Regions from separate parts of the Homo sapiens genome. Here all the other regions are linked to region 1. Evidence: promoter capture Hi-C in human tissues and cell types (Jung and others, 2019). All regions are on one chromosome and are shown on one strand. The core of a region is centred on a gene start or on the middle of the fragment in contact, and the rest is flanking DNA. Distances in the headings are between cores, read along the strand shown. Region 1 holds the start of NAALADL1 (N-acetylated alpha-linked acidic dipeptidase like 1). Region 2 holds the start of MACROD1 (mono-ADP ribosylhydrolase 1). Region 3 holds the start of SNX32 (sorting nexin 32). Region 4 has its middle 27 kb from the start of AP5B1. Region 5 has its middle 12 kb from the start of LINC02724.

Evidence for each region. Contacts are between HindIII fragments. The study calls those that stand out against the background at their distance.
Region 2: a contact is called between the fragment with the promoter of MACROD1 here and the fragment with the promoter of NAALADL1 in region 1, in 2 of the 25 tissues and cell types used here (bladder and heart left ventricle).
Region 3: the fragment with the promoter of SNX32 here is called in contact with the fragment with the promoter of NAALADL1 in region 1 in 4 of the 25 tissues and cell types used here (adrenal gland, heart left ventricle, heart right ventricle and 1 more).
Region 4: a contact is called between a fragment that was not itself captured here and the fragment with the promoter of NAALADL1 in region 1, in 1 of the 25 tissues and cell types used here (spleen).
Region 5: a contact is called between a fragment that was not itself captured here and the fragment with the promoter of NAALADL1 in region 1, in 1 of the 25 tissues and cell types used here (H1 embryonic stem cells).

What each region holds. Positions count from the first base shown.
Region 1 is chr11:65,057,296-65,059,819 of GRCh38, reverse strand. NAALADL1 (N-acetylated alpha-linked acidic dipeptidase like 1) reads left to right here and starts at 1,267. Exons shown (of 18, transcript NM_005468.3): 1 at 1,267-1,483; 2 at 1,570-1,742; 3 at 1,824-1,945; 4 at 2,327-2,449. The coding sequence starts at 1,299. The HindIII fragment of the contact is 22,908 bases long and covers 1-2,524 here.
Region 2 is chr11:64,164,849-64,167,372 of GRCh38, reverse strand. It overlaps MACROD1 (mono-ADP ribosylhydrolase 1), which reads left to right and starts at 1,260. Exons shown (of 11, transcript NM_014067.4): 1 at 1,260-1,676. The coding sequence starts at 1,379. It overlaps LOC105369339 (a long non-coding RNA gene), which reads right to left and starts at 1,135. Exons shown (of 3, transcript XR_950187.3): 1 at 784-1,135. RefSeq lists silencers at 874-1,133, 1,394-1,473, 1,604-1,703 and an enhancer at 1,241-1,741. The HindIII fragment of the contact is 20,905 bases long and covers 1-2,524 here.
Region 3 is chr11:65,832,703-65,835,226 of GRCh38, reverse strand. SNX32 (sorting nexin 32) reads right to left here and starts at 1,264. Exons shown (of 13, transcript NM_152760.3): 1 at 1,126-1,264. The coding sequence starts at 1,161. It overlaps LOC124902693, which reads left to right and starts at 1,428. Exons shown (of 7, transcript XM_047427980.1): 1 at 1,428-2,524. The coding sequence starts at 1,716. RefSeq lists an enhancer at 1,183-1,272 and silencers at 1,197-1,409, 1,583-1,712. The HindIII fragment of the contact is 13,089 bases long and covers 1-2,524 here.
Region 4 is chr11:65,752,910-65,755,433 of GRCh38, reverse strand. No RefSeq gene overlaps it. Among named protein-coding and RNA genes, the nearest start is that of AP5B1, 27 kb to the left of the region's middle. The HindIII fragment of the contact is 8,105 bases long and covers 1-2,524 here.
Region 5 is chr11:64,435,726-64,438,249 of GRCh38, reverse strand. No RefSeq gene overlaps it. Among named protein-coding and RNA genes, the nearest start is that of LINC02724, 12 kb to the left of the region's middle. The HindIII fragment of the contact is 5,095 bases long and covers 1-2,524 here.

The DNA of each region.
Region 1 (2,524 bases), core at 18-2,517:
GGGAGCATGGTGATCCTCCCTCTACAGGGCACTTACCACATGGCTGAACCTAAAGCCTGTCTGCCTCGCCTGCTGGATTTTGCTTCCCCACAGCCTTGCATGGCTCTAGTATAGCACAGAATGAACAGTGCTTGCATGTATAAAGGAAGGAATGAATAAGTGAATGGAGGGATGGGTGGATGGATAAATAGGAGGGTGGATGACGGAGTCCAGGCAGAGCCAGGGGATAGAAGAGGAAGTCACCTCGCCAGGGAGGCATGGGCTTCCCCTGCTGCCTCCTCTGGGACAGCCTCCCTTCCCAGGACTCCCATTCCTCGTATCGCTGGGCTCCCTTCAGGATAGACACAGAGAGTTCTTCTGGGTCCTCCTTCTTCCTTTAGCTCTAGGCCTTACATTTTCCAGAGTCAGATGAGGGATGAGTAGTTAAAATTGATGAGCTCCCACTACATGTCAGACACTGCACTAGCTATTTCTACAGATGCCATATTGTTTAATGAAAATGACACCATAGCCGGCACGGTGGCTCACTCCTGTCATCCCAGCACTTTGGGAGGCTGAGGCGGGTGATCACCTGAGATCAGGAGTTTGAGACCAGCCTGGCCAACATGGTGAAACCCCATCTCTACTAAAAATACAAAAATTAGCTGGACATGGTGGTGCACACCCGTAATCCCAGCTACTCGGGAGGCCGATGCAGGAGAATCACTTGAGCCCGGGAGGTGGAGGTTGCAGTGAGCCGAGATCACACCACTGGACTCCAGCCTGGGTGTCAGTGGAAGACACAGTCTAGAAAAAAAAAAAAGAAAACAGGTGTAGAGAAGCTGAGTGGATTGCCCAAGGTCACACAGCTTACGTCCAGCAAGAAGGGGGATCTCAACTCAAAATCTGCTCAGGCAGGTAGGGCTGGGTATGCTGTAGATCGGCTGCCTTGGAGGGAGGCAGAGGCAGTGAGGGTGGGCAGTGGGCACGGCCCTGCTGTGAACACAGGAGCTCTGAGTTCCAGCCCTGGCTTGGCCTCTGTTTTCCTGGGACACCCTGGATGAGCCCCTTCCCTCTCGGCTTCAGTGTCCCTGGGTGACCTTGCTGCCCTTGGAGAGCCATTCCAGGCAAATGGTGCAGGATGTGGTGGATGTGGATGGCTCCTGGCTCTCACTGCGGGATGTTCCCTCACTCTCCCTGCCAGCTGGGGGTCAAAGGGCAGTGCCACCCATGGGGTAATGTTTAACCAGGCACAACACCCCCTCTATAGGGAATAACCTATAGACCAGTCCTACCCCAGCTGGCCAAGAGTCCGCAGGATGCAGTGGACGAAGGTGTTGGGGCTGGGGCTGGGGGCTGCTGCCCTCTTGGGGCTGGGGATCATCCTCGGCCACTTTGCCATCCCCAAAAAAGCCAACTCACTGGCCCCCCAGGACCTGGACCTGGAGATCCTGGAGACCGTCATGGGGCAGCTGGATGCCCACAGGATCCGGGAGAACCTCAGGTGAGAAGTGGGGCCATCTGCTCCTCCGTTTGCCAGAGGCCCCCTCCCTGATGCTGGCCCTGCCCCTCCCTCTGCCCACCCTGCAGAGAACTCTCCAGGGAGCCACACCTGGCCTCCAGCCCTCGGGATGAGGACCTGGTGCAGCTGCTGCTGCAGCGCTGGAAGGACCCAGAGTCAGGCCTGGACTCGGCCGAGGCCTCCACGTACGAAGTGCTGCTGTCCTTCCCTAGCCAGGAGCAGCCCAACGTCGTGGACATCGGTGAGGTCCTGCCCAGTCTTGGGAATGCCCGGGGGTGGGGAGCTGCTGGGCCCAGCCATGATACTGCCACCCCTCCAACAGTGGGCCCCACTGGGGGCATCATCCACTCCTGCCACCGGACTGAGGAGAACGTGACCGGGGAGCAAGGGGGGCCAGATGTGGTACAACCCTATGCTGCCTATGCTCCTTCTGGAACCCCACAGGTGGGCCCAGAACCCCCCCTACTGCTCTGGCCCAGCTCCCTTGGTTCCACCCAGGGTTCTCCCCACCCTGACCCAGGGAACGTGCCTCAACTGGGGCACAGCGCGCCCTCCGGAATTTACTCACCGGGACACTCCATCGCTGCTCCTTTCCTCCATCAGTCATTCAACAAACACTAGTGGCTCTGCTCAAGGCCAGGTCTGTTACAGGGCACCCAGACATGGAGGAAATGAGGGGTGACTGTTCTTGGGGAGCTTACAAGCTCTGGGTGAGGTGGGGGAACAGAATCTAAATTCTCCCTCCTGCCATGCAAACTTCCACCCCCCTTCCCCACCCACACTTCGCTGGGCCCAGCTCTAAGGATCACCCCCTCTTGGGACTAGGGCCTCCTCGTCTATGCCAACCGGGGCGCGGAAGAAGACTTTAAGGAGCTACAGACTCAGGGCATCAAACTTGAAGGCACCATTGCCCTGACTCGATATGGGGGTGTAGGGCGTGGGGCCAAGGTGAGTGGCAGTCCCCCAGTGCAGGAGGCCTCGGTGAGGAAGGGGCTGGGCAGTGGACTGGAGGAAGTGAGGGGA
Region 2 (2,524 bases), core at 11-2,510, 890 kb after region 1:
CGGGTAGAGATGAGGGGGTCTCACTATATTGCCCAGGCTGGTCTTGAACTCCTGGCCTCTAATAATCCTCTTGCCTCAGCCTCCCAAAGTGCTGGGATTACAGGTGTGAGCACTTATTCATTATTCATTATTACATTCATTATATTATTATAATGGCCCGGCCTGTATTCATTATATTTATCATAAAGTAATATTAATAGTACATAAAAATATATAAAAGTACTTAAAAATCCATCCTCGTGTTTTTTGTTTTGTTTTCTTTGAGACAGAGTCTCGTTCTGTCACCCAGGCTGGAGTGCAATGGCACGATCTCGGCTCACCGCAACCTCCGCCTTCCGGGTTCAAGTGATTCTCCTGCCTCAGCCTCCCGAGTAGCTGTAATTAACAGGCATGCACCACCACGCCTGCATAATTTTTGTATTTTTAGTAGAGACGGGGTTTCGCCATGTTGGCCAGGCAGGCCTCGAACTCCTGACCTCGTGATCCACCCAACTCGGCCTACCAAAGTGCTGGGATTACAGGCGTGAGCCACCGCGCCCGGCCGGTTTTTGTTTAAAAAAGAAAAGAAAAAAAAAAAAAAACACACAGACACACACAAAAACATCACCCCAATCCTTCCACCCTTGAACGCCACTTGAAGCCTAAGTTTCCTGCCTCCAAATTCCACTATTTCCACCCTCGACTCTCCTCCCCAGCTGTCCTAGATTCTGCTCCAGCTGAGCCTTGGCCCCGGGGCTGTTAGAAGGCAGAGGCTCTGGGGAGAAGTCCCCAAACCGGATTTACCCGTTCGTCGCACCTGTCCCTAGGAGGGCAGGCTGGGGTGTGGAGGCGGTGCCCTGCTGACCCGCGGGGAGAGAAGCCCGGGTCTCCCAGGCTGCAAAACGCTCGGCACTGCGGAAGCCGCGCCAGGCTCTCCCAGCTCGATACGCAGCGGCCGGCGCGCCTGCTCCGCCGCGGGGCCGAGCGGCAGAGGGGCCCGGGGCTGCGTGGAAGGCCCGGGGGCTTCAGCCCGTGCCGGGGAAGCCGACGCTCAGCCAACCAGAAAGTTAGAGGCGGCCGAGGTCTCGCGGAGGGGAGGCGCCTGGCGGCCACGGGAGAAGTCGAAGGGCTCAGGCGGGGCTCCATCCGCGACACTGGGAGCCCGGGCGGGCGCGCACGTGTGTATACGAGTGCGTGGGCCCATCCGGCGGCCCGGACTACAAGTTCCAGGGTGCCCAGCGGCGCTCCCGGGTTTTCTGGCCGCGCCTCCCGCTGGCTCCGAGCAGGTCGCCGCTGGCTGGCAGTCGCCACCCGGTCCCAGAGTAAATAAGGGAGAGACACTCCCGAGCGCCGTAAATAGAGTCCAAGTGGGCGGAGAGCCGTCCCGCGCCGCCCGCTCATGTCTCTACAGAGCCGACTGTCCGGCCGCCTGGCACAGCTGCGCGCGGCGGGGCAGCTGCTCGTCCCCCCGCGCCCCCGGCCCGGACACTTGGCGGGTGCCACGAGGACCCGCAGCAGCACGTGCGGTCCCCCGGCGTTCCTGGGCGTGTTCGGCCGCCGTGCGCGGACCTCGGCGGGAGTTGGGGCGTGGGGGGCGGCGGCGGTGGGGCGGACAGCCGGGGTGCGCACTTGGGCCCCCCTGGCCATGGCGGCGAAGGTGGACCTGAGCACCTCCACCGACTGGAAGGAGGCGAAATGTAAGTGTAAGCACGAGGGGGCGCGAGGGAGAGGGCGGCCTCACGTGGAGCTTCCCGGCTGGGCGGCCCCCAACGAGCGAGCAGCCCCTTCCACCCGAGAGACCTGGGGAAGTTGAGGCCCCATCTGCCCTGGAACGGACCCCTCCTCCCCATTGACAGCCCCCCCCGCCCCCGCGCGTGTTCCCAGCCCCACAGAACAATTCACTCCAGACCAGGTCCAAGTGTCCACGCAGGGGGCAGCGTGAGGAAGGCGGCCTTCCTTACCCCATTGGAATGGGTCACAGGGCACCCCAGAGATTGTGCAGGACCTACCAACTTCCTTCCCTGTGCAGGAGGGAAACTGAGGCCGAGTGCCACAGCTGGCTTCCCCAAGGTCACTCGGAGCTGGTGGCAAAGTGGAGGTTATGATCCCGGACTCTCCAAACTTTGCACAGTGTGGTTCTTAAGTGTTCGGGAATGGGGCTGAGGGAACAGCTCCGGGGCTGGCGTCCCACCTGGTGGGGCACGTAACCTCACAGAGTGACCTTCCTGGGCTGGCCTGTCCTGCCTCCACCCCACCCCAAGCCCGCACTCTGATGCCTTCCTGGGCACGTGGTCTGGCGCCCTTTTCCCCTTCTCGCTGGCCTCTGGCCACTTGTGAGCAGTTTGCTCATGCCAGGAACAGAGGTTAGAGGAGCAGGGCAGAGGTGGGGTCTTGTCCCTGTGACAACTGATGACACCCTTCAAGAATCACACCACTTCCTCTTGCTCCTGGAGGGGGCATGAGTCTGGGGCCTGGGGAGAGAGAGAACCCAAGCTGCCGCTACTGAGCCCCAAATAGCCCTGCCGGGCACCCAGCTGCCCCTGCC
Region 3 (2,524 bases), core at 15-2,514, 780 kb before region 1:
TTGGCATCCTCATCAGTCCGCACACAGGTGCCACAGAGGCTCCCCACTCCCTTGCTCAAGTCTCCTTTCTCTCACTTGCGCAGACACACACATACACACAGAGACACATGGGCACATACACACACACAGACACACGAGACAAACACAGACACACGCACACACAGACACACATAGAAACACACACAGATACACAGACACACACAAACACACAGGCACAGAGAAACACACACACAGACACACACAACGACATACACAGATCATACACAGGCACACAGACACACACAGATGCACACACAGACACACTGACATAGACACACACAGATATACAAAGACACACGGATACAGACACACACAGACACATGCAAACACACACACAGACCCAGAAATACACAGACACACACACACAGACACACGCAGACCATACACACACACAGAGACACACACACACAGACATAAAGATGCACGCAGACCATACATAGACACAGAGACAGACACACACTCAGACACAAAGAGACACAGACCTGCGCAGACACACACAGGCACATGCGTGCACACACAGATACACACAGAGACACACACAGATGCATACATGCACACATGCAGACCATACACACAGACAGACACAGACACAAAGACACACGCAGACCATACACAGACACAGACACACAGACACACACACACAGACATGCACAGACACACACAGAGACAGACACAGACATGCACGCACAAACACCCACATGGACGCATACGTGCACACACACAGACACACACAGGCCATACACACACACACAGAGACACGGAGACACACAGACACACACACAGATACACAGAGACACACAAAGACACAGACACACACTGAGACACACACAGACACACAGACACACAGAGACACAAATACAGACATACACAGATACACACACACACAGACATATGCAGGCACATCGACATACACACAGACACACAGAGAAACAGACACATGCAGACTATACACACACAGACACACACAGAAACACACAGAGGCAGACCACACACACACAGACACACACACACCACCGCATGATTGGGCATCACGGGCTTTCATGGAGTGAGGGGAGGCTGGGGTGGGGGTCTTCATCCTTTCTCTACCTTGCCCTCCTTCCCAACCTCCGCATACGTCTCCATCGCTCTCCTGGGCTTCAGCGTCCGGCCACTGCCCGCGTGCTCCCGCAGGTCGTCCCCGTAACTCGCCCGAGGAACTGACCGAGTGAGGATGCTCTCAGCTGACGGGGACGCTCTCCCCCGCCCGGCCAAGGAGTCGCCTGGAGTCGGGGGCGGTTCCCACCGCGTTTCCCTCAGCCACGCCTTTCGATTGGGTAGCGGGGCACCGCGCGTGACGCCATTGGCTGCATTGTCTGTCGTTCCTGTCCCAGGCCCCAGCTTTTAAGGGACACGCGGCACGGAGAGTGGGCCGGTGATAGGCGACAGTGTGGGAGCTGGGGTCAGAGTTCATAGGGTCGCAGAGGCCGCGTGCCGCGTCTCCCTCCAGTCCCCGGGGGACTGACCCCCACAACAACCCCGTGCCGCCGTTCCGGGCCCCTCCTTCCAACGGCCACGTGCGGCCTGCGCGTGCGCACTCGCCCAGTTTGGCGCCCACCAGGCAGTGGGGAAGGGGAAGGGGAAGGGGAAGAGGGTGAGGGTGGCAGGGTGGGGACAGGGAATGGGAAGCAGTGGTGGGGATGTGGGTGGTGGACCAGGGGCGAGGGCAGGGGACAATGTCTGTGGAGAAGGGGGGTCTGTTTAGGTTTCCGCTCTTGGACGGGAGGGAGCGGCGGGGTAAGCAGCCTAGGAGGACTAGGGAGCTCCACAAGTCCCGCGGCCAGGGCGCCCCAAGCGAGGCCGGGGTCCGCGAACGGTCGCCACTGGAGCGGGGCTGCAAGGGGGTGCCGATGCTGCGAGAGAAAACCTGGGGACCTTGGAACGGGCTCATGGTAATTGGGAAGAGAGTGGAGCTCCTGACTAGAAACACTCGAAAGCCGAAGCTGGAGTCTGAGTACTGGAGACTGGAAGATGTGGAAAAGACGGTCTTGAAAGGGAAGTCAGGCCCGAGTCAGGAAAGGATGGATGTGAAGCTGCTATACCGTGGAGCAAGTGCATCACAAGCTTCAGCAGATTTGGGGAAAGACAGCCCAAGGGGTATTTGGGGAAAGCAAGAGGTCAAACACGAAATAAAGGCTAAATCTAAGAGTGCAGGGATGACAGCAGGGCCTATGAAGGGGTCTGGGTTTGAAGAGAGGTTGAGGTCTGCTGGGGAGAAGGTAGGGACCAGTGGAGAGGACTTGAGATCCAATGGATATAAACTGGGACAGGATGAGAAGGGGTTGAGGTCTAGTGTAGACAAGATGAGATCAAGTGTAGAGAAGCTGAGGTCTACTAGTGAGAAGCTGGTGTGCAGGGGAGAGAAGCAGGGGTCCAGTGGAGTGAAGCTGAGGTCCAGTGGCAGAAAGCTGAGATCAAGTGGAGAGAATTTGAGATCAAGTAGAGAGAA
Region 4 (2,524 bases), core at 9-2,508, 700 kb before region 1:
CAAAATATTAGCAAATCAAATCCAATGATACATAAAGATAATTATATGCCATGACCAAATGGGGATTTATCCCAGGTATGCAATCAGTTAATGTAATCCATCACGTCTAAAAGAGAAATATCAAATGATAATTCAATACACGCAGAAAAAGCATTTGAAAAAATTCAGCACCCATTTGTGATTTAAAAAAACTCTCAGTAAACTAGGAATAAAGGGGAACTTCCTTAACTTGATTTTTAAAAGGTACAAAAACCGTATAGCTAATATTTTACTTAACAGTGAGAAACTAGAAGCTTTCCTGCTAAGATCAGAAAAAAGGAAAGAAAGTCCTCTCTCCCCACTCCTTTCAATATTACGCTGGAAGTCCTAGCTAATGCTAAGACAAGAAAAAGAAATAGAAGTATACAGATTGGGAAGGAAGAAAGGTGGTAAAGATGGCATGATTGTCTATGTAGAAAATCTGGAAAAATCAGCAACAACAAACCCTTGGGACTAATGAGCAGTTATAGCAACATTGCAGCATGCAAGATTAATATAAAATTATCAATTGCTTTCCTATATACCATCAATGAACAAGTGGAATCTGAAATTAAAAACACAGGCTGGATAGCTGCAAATAAAATAAAATACTTAGGAATTAACCAAAGAAATGAAAGATCTCTACAATGAAAACTATAAAACATTCATGCAAGAAACTGAAGTGAGGCTGGGAATGGTGGCTGAAGCCTGTAATCCCAGCACTTTGGGGGGCCAAGGTAGGTGGATCTCTTGAGTCCAGGAGTTCGAGACCAGCCTGGGCAACGTGGTGAAACTTCAACTCTACAAAAAACACAAAAAAGAAAAACTAGCTGGGCATGGTGGTTCGCACCTGCAGGCCCAACTACTCAGGAGGCTGAGGCAGGAGGATCACTTGAGCCTGAGAAATTAAGGCTTTGGCAAGCCATGATCACACCACTGCACTCTGGCCTGGGTGACAGAGTGAGACCCTATTTCAAAAAAGAAAAGAAAAGAAATTGAAGAGGACACAAAAAATGGAAAGATATTTCATGTTCATGGATAGGAAGAATCAACATTGTTAAAATGTCCAATAGATTTAATGCAATTCCTGTCAAAATACCAATGACATTCTTCACAGAAATAGAAAAAAATCCTAAAAATCCTAAAATATGTATGGAATCACAAAAGACCCAGAATAGCCAAAGCTATCCTAAGCAAAAAGGACAGAACTAGAGGAATCACATTATCTGACTTCAAATTATACTACAGAGCTATAGTAACCAAACGGCATGGCACTGGCATAAAAACAGATACATAAACCAGTGGAACAGAATCAAAAACCTAGAAATAAATTCATACATCTACAGTGAACTCGTTTTTGACAAAGTTTCCAAGAATATATATTGAGGAAAGGACAGTCTCTTCAATAAGTGGTGCTGGGAAAACTGGATATCCATATGCATAAGAATGAAACTAGACCCCTATCTCTTGCCAAAAAAATCAAATCAAAATGAATTAAAAACATTTAAGACTGAAAATTATGAAACTACCAAAAGAAAACACTGGGGAAACTCTCCAGGACATCAAAGTGGGCAAATACTTCTTGAGCAATACCCCACAGGTATAGGCAACCAAAGCAAAAATGTATAAATGGAATTACGTCAAGTTAAACAGCTACTGCACAACAAAAGAAACAATCAACAAAGTGAAGGGACAACCCATAGAATGGGAGAAAATATTTGCAAACTTCCCATCTGTATTAGTCAGTGTTCTTTCTCTCTCTATATATAAAGGGGAGTTTATTACATGATCACAAGGTCCCACAATAGGCTTTCTGCAAGCTGAGAAGCAAGGAGAGCCAGTCTGAGTCCCAGAACTGAAGAACTTGGAGTCCGATGTGCGAGGGCAAGAAGCATCCAGCACAGGAAAAAGATGAAGGCTGGGAGGCGAAGGCTGTCTCTCCTTTTCACGTTTTTCTGCCTGCTTTATATTCAATGGCAGCTGATTAGATTGTGCCCACCAGATTAAGGGTGGATCTGCTTTCCCCAGCCCACTGACTCAAATGTTAATCTCTTTTGGCAGCACCCTCAGAGACACACCCAGGATCAATATTTTGTATCCTTCAATCAAGCTGACACTCGATATTAACCATCACACCATCTGACAGAATACATAAGGAGTTCAAACCACTCTCTAGAAAAGAAATCTAATAATCTGATTAAAAGTGGGCCAGAGATCTGAATAGATATTTCTCAAAAAAAGACAAACAAATGGCAAACAGGCATATGAAAAGGTGCTCTACATAGTTGATCATCAGAGAAAAGCAAATCAAAACTACAATGAGATATTACCTTACCCCAGTTAAAATGGCTTTTATTCAAAAGACAGGTAATAACACATGCTGGCGAGGATGTGGAGAAAAGGCAACCCTTGTACACTGTTGGTGGGAAGGTAAATTAGTGCAACCACTGTGGAAAACATTGTGGAGGTCCCTCAAAAAACTAAAAACAGAGCTACCATATGATCC
Region 5 (2,524 bases), core at 14-2,513, 620 kb after region 1:
GGAGTTCTAGACCAGCCTGGCCAACATGGTGAACCCCATCTCTACTAAAAATACAAAAATTAGCCGGGTGTGGTGGCGGGCACCTGTAATCCCAGCTACTCGGGAGAGTGAGGCAGGAGAATTGCTTGAACCCAGGAGGCAGAGGTTGCAGTGAGCCGAGATCGCACCACTGCACTCCAGCCTGGGCAAGAGAGCGAGGCTCCGTCTCAAAGAAAAAAAAAAAGAAAGAAAGAAAAAAGAAAAAAAGAAAACCACAAAGGAACTCCCATGTTGAGAAATTGCCCCTTCATAGCCTGTGGGTGTCCCTGGCCTCCCGCCTCTCGCTGTCTCCTCTCTCCTCTCTTTCCTCTCTTCTCTTTCCCATCCTTCTAACTTTATATCACAAAAGGGCAAAAACAGGGCTCATCTCTAAGGGCAGGGGAGACTGAGAAATGGACCCTTTTGGGGCAGCATCCCCTCGGGAGGCAGGAGGAAGGGGAAGGTCCACCCGGCAACACTCACAGGCTAGAGAATTTTGCTCTTTGACAAAAACAGCTCTGCTTGCTCCACAGTGGCCGGGGGCTGAAGGTCCTCACCTGGCATTTGTGTTGCCTTCTGTCAATCACCCCAGGGCCAGGGTGCAGCATTTAGGATGCTCTCAAGAATGCGGAAAAAATGTAACCAAAAAGTCCAGAGGTGAGGCATGATCAGGCATGTCATCCGCAGCCATGCTCTTTCTGTCTCTCTGCACTGTCCTCCTGCCGTCAGCCCTCTGTGGTTGTGCGGTGGCCACCAGCAGCAGCTGGCTGCCTGGCTCCTTTATCACAATTAGTGGGAGAGGGTCAGTGGTGTGTAGGTAAGCCAGCTCTCTGGGGTGGGGACGGGTGTGAGGAAAAGCTCTAATTTATAGCATGTGCCATTTTCTGTGGTATAAACACTCCCCATGGTTGATTTTTTTTTTTTGACTGGGTATTGCTCTGTTGCCCAGGCTAGAATGCAGTGGCACAATCTCAGCTCACTGCAACCTCCCCTCCCCATTTCCAGTGATTCTCCTGTCTCAGCCTCCCAAGTAGCTGGGATTACAGGCACCTGCCACCACATCCGGCTAATTTTTGTATTTTCAGTAGAGACAGAGTTTCACCATGTTGGCCAGGCTGGTCTCAAACTCCTGACCTCAGGTGATCTGCCAGCCTTAGCCTCCCAGCATGCTGGGATTATGGGTGTGAGCCACCGCGCACGGCCACCCCATGGCTGATTTCAAGCCACTAACCTGACTACACAGTTGGGAGGAGAGGCACACACTAGATGCCCACACAGCTCTGGCACAGAAACCCCATGGGACAGAGGACAGGATCACATGGATTGTTTAGACCCATCAGGGCCCATCCCTGGAGGCTGAGTCAATTCCCCCCAAACTATTTTAGCAAGGGCAGGGGGAGGGAGGAGAGGGTGTCAGGAGAGGCAGCAGTGAGGGTCGCAACCCGGCCCTCTCATCTTCCTTGCATTCCCTTCGCAACATTCCTGCCCAGACAGCCTCTTGCAGTTTCCAGCAACTACCCTAACACTGAGCCCAAAGAGCGACCCCACTCAGGGCAGTGGGCAGTGGCCGATTCCTGGCTTGGAGACAATGAACCATGAGGCTGACAGCCAAGGAGACCTCAGGGATAACCGGAATAGCAAAAGCCAGCATCCCATAGAAGGCCCCAGGAACCCCCTCCAGGGCCTTTTTCATGCCTGTGTGGTGGGCAGCCTGCCTGCCTGACAATAGCCACAGCCATTGCCTGATGCAGTCCCAGCCTGGCCACCCCCAGGCAAACAGGGGAGAGCCGGGGACACTCACTCTGCACCAGCTTGGGGTCTCTTGGTCCACTTCTAGAACCCACTGAGGGGGGAAGATGGTGCAAGTCTGGAGAGAACAGCCCTGCATCCCTGAGTACCTCTGTCCTAGTTCACAACCATGTTGTCAGATGACTCATTTTTCTTATAAGCTAAGTCCAGAGCTTTTGGAAGCCAGACAGAGAGCTTTGTAAGAGGTGGACACACCTGCCCGAAGTTGGAGTTTCCTGCACCTGCACCGAGGAGAGGATGGTGGATCTGAAAGGTGCCCCCTCCGCTGCCCGCTTCCTGGCCCAGAGCCATGTGGTAGGCTCTCAGTGATGCTTCCCACATCATCTGTGCAGAAAACCTGTTTCTCTTTGCTGCCAGCAAAGCTAATTGCTGAGTTAATTGGCAATGTGTTGTTAGGTGAAAAAGAGCAAGTTATAAAACTGTATTTATAGTTTGACATTATTCTCAAAGAAAAATATGTATGTATGTTCATGTGTGTTCTGCATGTGTGTGCATGCATGTGTTCATGTGTATATGTGCATGTGTGTGACGGAGGAGTGTCTCTCTGTGCGAATATAAATGGACATGGAAAACAAGAATAGAGGCCAGGCGCGGTGGCTCACACCTGTAATCCCAGCACTTTGGGAGGCCGAGGTGGGTGGATCACCTGAGGTCAGGAGTTCGAGATCAGCCTGGCCAACATGGTGAAACCCTGTCT